3 separate regions of the Homo sapiens genome follow, and regions 1 and 2 are each linked to region 3. Evidence: promoter capture Hi-C in 16 types of primary human blood cells and fetal thymus (Javierre and others, 2016). All regions are on one chromosome and are shown on one strand. Each heading gives the region's core, a stretch centred on a gene start or on the middle of the fragment in contact. The rest is flanking DNA. Distances are from core to core; before and after follow the strand shown.

Evidence for each region. Contacts are between HindIII fragments. The CHiCAGO score rates a contact against its expected background, and 5 or more counts as called.
Region 1: a contact is called between the fragment with the promoter of SLC22A7 here and the fragment with the promoter of TJAP1 in region 3, in 1 of 17 cell types (erythroblasts). The highest score is 5.7, in erythroblasts.
Region 2: a contact is called between a fragment that was not itself captured here and the fragment with the promoter of TJAP1 in region 3, in 3 of 17 cell types (activated CD4 T cells, erythroblasts and naive B cells). The highest score is 6.1, in activated CD4 T cells.

Annotation. Positions count from the first base shown.
Region 1 is chr6:43,296,928-43,299,627 of GRCh38, reverse strand. SLC22A7 (solute carrier family 22 member 7) reads right to left here and starts at 1,368. Exons shown (of 11, transcript NM_153320.2): 1 at 877-1,368; 2 at 531-536; 3 at 135-238; 4 at 1. The coding sequence starts at 1,269. LOC124901319 (a long non-coding RNA gene) reads left to right here. Exons shown (of 2, transcript XR_007059582.1): 2 at 1-686. The HindIII fragment of the contact is 22,683 bases long and covers 1-2,700 here.
Region 2 is chr6:43,315,879-43,318,578 of GRCh38, reverse strand. No RefSeq gene overlaps it. Among named protein-coding and RNA genes, the nearest start is that of CRIP3, 8.4 kb to the right of the region's middle. The HindIII fragment of the contact is 699 bases long and covers 1,057-1,755 here.
Region 3 is chr6:43,476,228-43,478,927 of GRCh38, reverse strand. TJAP1 (tight junction associated protein 1) reads right to left here and starts at 1,358. Exons shown (of 11, transcript NM_001350562.2): 1 at 1,300-1,358; 2 at 696-841. RefSeq lists an enhancer at 215-1,008. The HindIII fragment of the contact is 14,243 bases long and covers 1-2,700 here.

The sequences.
Region 1 (2,700 bases), core at 119-2,618, 180 kb after region 3:
CCTGCAAAGGGGTCATGCAGGGTCAGTTCCCTGTGGAAGGAGGTTCTAAGGCATAGGTAGACTAGGCTCATACCCCAGCTAGTGGGAGAAAGTTCCCCCAGCCAGTTTCTTATTGGCCCAGTGCCTCACCCCACCTGTCGGACAGATATCCAAAGGCCACAGCCCCCACCAGCACACCGGCGAAGAAGAAAGTGGACGCAGCTCTGTTCAGACCTTTCTGCTCACACACCAGATCCCACTGCAAGGACAGGCAGAAAGGGACCTCCTATGAACATCAGCCCCTCTCCAGCAGGCACCAGCTCCTCCTCTCCAGACCCTGGAGCCTTCTGAGGCGAACTCTGCCATTCTGGTACCTCCATGCCAGATAATAAACCTCCCAACGATTCACGCCAGCTTGGGGAATAGGAAACTTTGTCCCTCCCCAGTCCTGCAGCCTCAGCTTCTTCCCAAGGAAGGCCTCGACCTGCTGCCTCCCAGGGAGACTGCCTCCACCGACATTCCACCTCCAGATGGATTATGTAAATACCGACCTGGGACTGGAAAAGAGGAAGGGAGAAAAGAAGGCCTCTATTGTTTCTCCACCTCTTGCTGCAGAAATTGCCTTCTCAGCTCTTTGTCTCAACTCCCTGAAGCCACTTTAGCCCTTCCCTGCCTTAATCACCTCCCAATTAATGATGATGATAACAGTTCTTGTGTAGGATCCTGTTACTACAAGCCATGAACTAAAAGTGCCTTATATTCATAGCCCCCATCTACAGATTGGTAAACTGAGACTTTAAGAGGTAAAGTAATACATCTAATGCCTACACAGTAACCACCCAAGGCAATGGCAGGCCCATCCCTCTCACATGTCTCTCAACTTCTGGGCTTAAGTACCTCAGTTGCAATGGTAGAGGAGAATTCTGAGTGGTCGTACTCCCAGCCCTGAGAGCAGGGCACTGTGGCAGGTTCATCCTCCAGCTCCCCACGGCTCTGCCTTTCTTCCCCCAACGTGGTGTTGGGGAGAGCCTGGGGATAGGCAAAGCGGAGGCAGGAGCTGAGCGTGCCATCAGGCTCCCGGGGAAGATGGGCCTCCAGCCACACATCCTGATGGCTGAAGTTGGCAGGGGCACCCGGCAGGGCACATCGGTGGGCAGGCACGGCAGCCAGGAAGATGGGCAGGAGGAAGTGCAGTGGTAGCAGCACTCGGGGCAGGGCCAGCAGTGCCACATTCCGCAGTTGGAAGGGCCCAAAGCCGCCCACCTGCTCCAGCAGCTCCTCAAAGCCCATGCTGCTCACCCACCAAATGCTTCAGGTGCAGCCTCCCTCTAGTATCCAGCCAGCTCAAACTGCCCACCACATAGACCCTTGGACTCTGGAGGTGGGAGTGGATGGACTGGAGAGCCTGCAGCCAGAATCCAGCCCTCAGGGGCTGGCCCAGGACTGGGCCCTCCCCAGCCATCAGGTCTCCAGGGACCTCTACCTGTCTTGCCTGGTGCCTGGGGGAAGGGGAAGCCATCCATTCAGAGGTCACTGGCTCGTGGCTCTGGGGCTTACCCATTAGTGTTCAGGGACCAAGGCTACCATGATGAGGTAGCTGGGTGATGGCATAGGAGGTGAGCCCCTAGCCCCTTGGTCAGCAGAGCTCCCAGGATCCCTAAGAAGAGGAGGCCCCTGGGGCCTGGGGCCAGCTCTCCCAGGGTGCCCTTTGTCCTGTGAGACCTTAGGTCAGCCTTGCCTATTTGCAGCTACAGCCATGGCCTGGCCGACAGCCCAGGATTCAGGACTGAAAGCTGGATCCTAACCAGGTTTCTTTCTGCTGAGCCATGAGGCCTCCTCGCATCCCTCTCCCCTGCTGGGAGCTGATGCCCTGGCCTAAGACACACCTGTGATCACACCGGGCAACTTGATGTCTCTGAGGATCCCAGGCTCATCCCATTCCCACTTCACTCAGGGACTCTCCCCATACATATGGTTCCAACTGCCTGTCCCATTCCCCTATTTCCAGCAGCTTCCTAAATTACCTTTTGGAGGGATAGGGAATGGCGGGGGACATGTTGCCAAGGTACCTGCAATGCCTAAGATTACCTTTTGGAGGGGTAGGGAATGGGGGAGGGGGAGTTACCAAGGTCTTGTCAAAGGTACATGCAATACCTAAGACTCAAATGTTCAATCTGACCCTCCCACTCAATTCTCAATCATGGTCCCTGCAGCAAAAGTACAGCAGAAACCAGCAATGTCTGGTTTATTCTCATCTGATTCTCCAAACACTTAGCTGGCAGACCCACTGGTTTAATCCAGCTCCTACTTTGAACAGGTCAGAAAACTAAAGACAGGGAGGGGACCTGCTGGGGTCACACAATGACTCAGCAGCAGAGCTGAAGAAAAGACCAGGTCCCCTGACTCCAGACCAGGAATCTCACTTTTGACCTAAGCTGCTGAGCTGGTGATGTCCCAGTCTGCTCCAGGCTGGGATCCCTGAGAAAGCGCTGGGAAAGGAGCTAAATCGATGGCATGGCGTGTGTTAATGGGGGTGCTGACAGCCATGGAGTGAAGCAAGAGGCAGCTAATGGTGGTGGCAGTGACAGGGGGTGACAATGAGAAGAAATGTTTGAGTCTCTAGTGCATCCTCGCCATTCTAGAGGGTACATAGATGCCTCAGACACGGTCCCTACCCTTAGGGAGCTTACAGGAGGGTTAAAATAAGCTAACCCTCCCTGT
Region 2 (2,700 bases), core at 157-2,656, 160 kb after region 3:
ACAAAGGTTCAGTGCCTTCTTTGTAGACTTTCTCTTTATGGCTTTTATCAAAAGATCAGTGTTCAGTTTCTTGTCTCCACTAAGATGCTGCCTTCTTTTTTGGTAATAGGAGGGTAGAAATTACAAATAAGCGCTTTATAGCTCTGCCTGTTCCAAAAGCCCAGGAGAAGAAGAGGAAAAGCCCAATCATTTTGGATTTGGGAAGAGGGTGGAATTTGACTCCTGATTCTGTGACCTTGAGCTTCATAGAGGAAATGAAAGACTCCTCTATGGAAAGGTAAGCATTTGCATTTGTATGAATCACAAGATTAAACTGTTTTAGCCTCATTAACATAGCATTAACATAGTCTCATGACCTGTAAGGACTATTTTTGTATATTATTTAAAAATTACCCTCCAGACCTTAGCATGAAGATGAGGAAGTTACTAGGACTTTACGCCAACTCCACGGAGCATTGCCACCATCTATCAGATTTATAAGCAAGCTGACTACCAAGTTTCACTTCTTTCTATTCCTCCTCAGTTTCCAGCATATGGATACATTTTTCATGCTGCAAATTATTTGTAGGTAGTTATTTTTATATATTTTCAGATGAAATACACATTTCTAAGTGAATACTTGAAAAGCCAAATCCATCTTTGCATGAAAAACCATCGTTTAAAGATGTTATTGATTTCTTCGCAAACATAGGTTGAAGGCACTCATGGCAAAGGTTTAGGGTGTCCTTTCCTGCAGTCTTGATTCTGAATTAGTCTAGTTGATGCCACTGAATCACAAAATGTAGCCTACTCAATATCCCTAAGCAGCTAACCACTATTAGCTTTATACAGAGTACTCTCAACAGGTTCATGTAATGGCAAGATGATGCTGGAAAATGAGGGGGAAAAAAATTAAACAGACTCTTGCTAGAGCCATAAATGATGTTTATAACTATACAGCAGCAGTTCTCTGTGGGTGGGGTGATTAGTATGTTTTAAGAAAGCAAATTCAGTCTTTTTTTGTTTTGTGTGTGTTTCCCTTTTTAAAAAGTAATATAAACTACAGAAAGTAAAGCTTTGTAGTTGGAGCAGACATGCAGAAGATGCAATGAGAAAGCAAAAGGTTTATGGGTAGTAAGGATTAAGAAACACAACTATAAAGAAATAAGACTGATTTTTCATTAACTTACCAGAACTGAGTGATTTCCCTTTCAAAAGAGTTATCTAAGAACAAAGTTCTGGGTAATGCCTTAAAAGTCACAGGCATGGCCGGGCACAGTGGCTCACGCCTGTAATCCCAGCACTTTGGGAGGTCAAGGTGGGCAGATCACAAGGTCAGGAGTTCAAGACCAGCCTGGCCAACAAAGTGAAACCCCATCTGTACTAAAGATACAAAAAATTAGCCAGGCATGGTGGTGCATGCCTGTAATCCCAGCTACTTGGGAGGCTGAGGCAGGAGAATTGCTTGAACCCGGGAGGCAGAGGTTGCAGCCAGCCAAGATCACGCCATTGCACTCCAGCCTGGGTTACAGGGTGTGTCTCTGTCTCAAAAAAAAAAAAAAGTCACAGGCATATGACCATGTACTTGAACAAGCCTACAAAGACATAAATGGGTGGAGTTTGTTGTTGTAATCAAATTCACTGCAAAGCTAACCTGACACATAATAGCAGCCTTATTTATAAGGTTGCTTTATAGTTTACATAACACTTCCCCACATTCTCTTATTTGCCACATAATTAATGATAGACATAATTGTGCCACATGCTAATTAAGCTTAATTAGTAAGTTCTTATGAATGACTACAATTGGTGGGACTTGTTTGCTACCAAAAGCAAATTTTCAGTTCTCTATTTACTTAATTAGTTACCTACTATTTATAATCAGGATCAGTTAAGTTATATTTTCTGTTTTGTATCATACATGTTGATCCTCATGTATATTGAGAAACAAAACTCCTGGCGGGGCACAGTGACTCACAGCGCTTTGGGAAGCCAAGGCAGGAGGATCTTTTCAGGCCAGGAGTTCAAGACTAGCCTGGGCAACGTAGTGGAACCCCATCTCTACAAAAAATAAAAAATTAGCGAGGTACAGTGGCACATGGCTGTAGTCCTAGCTACTTAGGAGACTGATGGGGGGATTGCTTGAGCCCAGGAGTTCCAGGTTACAGTGAGCTGTGACCTGTACTCCAGCCTGGGTGACAGAGCAAGATCCTGTCTCTTGAAGGAAAAAAGGAAACAAATTCCTGAGACCTTATTCCTAGGCAGCTGAACTTCCTTCACTCCAGGACACTCGTTGTTACCAACTCTCAACCTCTACCAGTCCCCTCTTATTCCCACATCTCTCACTAGCACTCATCTATCACACTCAGGGGGACTTGTATATAACATGTAACATTCATTCACCAGCAAGTATTTGTTGAGCACTATGTGCCAGAGATTTGAGCAAGGCACTGGAAATATATGCAATGGTTGGCAAAGCAGCCTGGTCCCTGCTCTCATGGATCTCACAGACTAAGGGGGCAGACAAAGCCCAGATTGGAGTGGAGGAGGTAGGCAGGAAGTTACCATATTTATTTCACTTTCTAAACTACAACCTGTCCTTTATCAATAATAAAGATGATGGGCTGGGTGGTGGCTCATGTCTGTAATCCCAGCACTTTGAGAGGCCAAGGTGAGTGGATCACTTGAAGTCAAAAGTCCAAGACCAGCCTGGCCAACATG
Region 3 (2,700 bases), core at 109-2,608:
CCAACTGTAAAGTAGCTCTCAAATATTAGGGGTCTCAAGGATAGGCAGTGCGGTGCTAAACATTCCCAGAGCTTTACATCAGTCCACTTGATCTCTTACCAGAAACTGATCTACATTTTTTCTCTCTAATCCCAACCTGCCTTTCCCTCACCTCTGATACCCCCACCAAAATCCACATCCCCAGAGGAACACTAATGAGCCCTTCTTACCAAAAAAGCAAAAGTAGACACACAGCGAGAATGAATTCAGGAGTCAGTGACAGCAGGTACCTAAATGGTCAGTGAACACGATCAGAATTTGTTTTCTCGTGACTCCCCACCATCTGTCACCCACAAATCTCCACTTCCAGGCAGGACGCCAAAGTGAAGAAGTGATGGGGATATTGAAGCAGAAACAATGAGCATGTAGGAAACTGCTTGTGACAGGGATGTGTTAACATCCTTCGGCCTGGTCTCTAGGCCTCTGTCCAGGTTTACTTGCATAGGTGAAGGCACACAAGGCTTAATTCTACACCAACTCTCAAAAGTCAGCCTGCAATCTACGCCAAACACTAACTTAAGGACCTCAGACAAAGGACAAACTCTATAAAAGTGAGCCCTTTTCAGACCAAATGTTTCTTGGCATCACTCTAAGCCCATGCATCCTCCTCCCAGGGAGCATGCCAGCCAGAAACCTGTCACTGGAAGCCACCTTACCCGCTCTGGGGTTGGACTGGGGCAAGTCGCTATCTCTTCTTCTTTCCAAGTAGGCACTGTAATTTCTTCCAGTCCCTGGGGCACCTGAATCTTCAGCTGAAATTGGGGCAGATGCTGCTAACAGCTGTGGAAAGGCTGATCTAAGCCTAGAAGAGGGTCATTTGACTGGCTTTAGTTCCCTCCTTAGCAGATCTGCCCGGCATCCTCCAGATCTCTCTTCCTCACTATCCCACTCTACTAGAAAGATCCCTTTCCCCTCTGGCCGGCCAGATACAGTCGGGCCTCTATCCCACGCTCCAGGCTTCTTTATTCGCGGCTAAGAAATTTTCCTCCAACTTGTGACTCTGCTTCTCCAGGGCCTGCACAACACCTACTTCTGGCTGCCCCGCCCCCAAATCCCCCTCCCCTAGGGCTGCCACTGGACCCTAGGGCCCCGGTCCGCCCCAGCTCCTTTTTTTCCTCTCCGCCTCGGACCTTACTCCATTCCATCTCCTCTTTTCAACCCTGGAGCCAGTACCCCCTTCGCCCCTACTACAGGCTAGGGCCCCCGCAATCCTCCCCAACTCTGGCTTCCCCGCCCGACTACTCCAACCCCACAACAAACTTTCCGCCGCTGCCAGCTGCGTTCAGGCCGCCATCTTGCCGCGGGGCAGGCCGGGTAGTGGCCAGGGCCGCGGGAATCCCCACGCACTTGGCGTGTCGCGTCATCTGAGGCGGGGCCATGGGGGCGGGGCCTCGGGTTGGGGAGGTGGGACACTAGGTAGGTGATGGTGAAAAATGGGGCTCTCCTGAAAGCAGGGATTGGAGGACTGGCCACAGAAGGAAGGAGGTGTCAGGAGCAGGGCAATAGCGGGAAGCGGGGAAAGAATCCAGTACTGAAAGAAAAAAAAAAAAAAAAAGAATAGGGGAACACATCTCAAAGATACAGTGGGAGAGAGAATCGTGCTACTGGTTCCCCGTCATCCAGAGAATAAAACCAGCTTTTCAGTTTGGCATTCAAAGATCCGCATGATCCAGGCTCTTCCACCTTCATCAGCCTCATTTTTTGCCTCTCCTGGGAACTTCAGGTTCCCAAATTGTCCTTTGTTTTCAGGACATCGGGCCTTAAGATGTCTAATCTCTCTCCTCCTCCTTTGCATCATCAATTCCTCCTATTCCTTCAAACCATCAGCTAAAATGTCACCTCCCCCAGAAAGATTTCCCTTTAGTGCTCCTTTTGCTGGGCATCACTAGCAACTTGTACATAGCTTTACTGTAGCTGTCCCGTGCAGTGTAATTATTTATTTACATGTTATACCACTTTTGCCCTGCTGCTTCTTCAGGGCAAAAACTATGTTTGATTGCATCTTCATACTCCCTAGCAGGTGCTTGGCACACAATAATTGCCTAATGAATAAATGGCATGTTTTCCTCCAATGCATTAAGCATATTTCTGCCTCAGGGTCTCTAAATTTGCTATTCCCCATACCTGGAATGTTCTTCCTCCAAATATTGACTCTCATTTGTGTCTTTGCTCAAGTGTCATCACTTTAGAGAAGCCTTCCTTGGCCACTCAATCTAAATCAGCATCCCTATTCTCCTTTACCCTGCTTTAATGTTTTCATTCATAGTACTTATCATTATCTGACATTATATTAAATATTTATTGTTTATTGATCATCTCCCCACTACAAAGCAAACTCCAGAGGTCTGGGATGTTTTCTTGCTCATCACAGTATCCCCAGTGTCTAAAACAATGCCTGGCATAGTAGGTATTCAATAGATTTTTTTTATTCTGTTTGTTTAATTAATTAATTAATTTTTGAGACAGGGTCTCACTCTGTTGCCCAGGCTGGAGTGTAGTGGTGCGATCTCGGCTCACTGCAACCTCCGCCTCCCGGGTTCAAGTGATTCTCCCACCTCAGTTTCCTGTGTAGCTGGGATTACAGGCGCATGCCAGCTAATTTTTTGTATTTTTAGTAGAGATGGGAGTTCCACCATTCCACCATGTTGGCCAGGCTGGTCT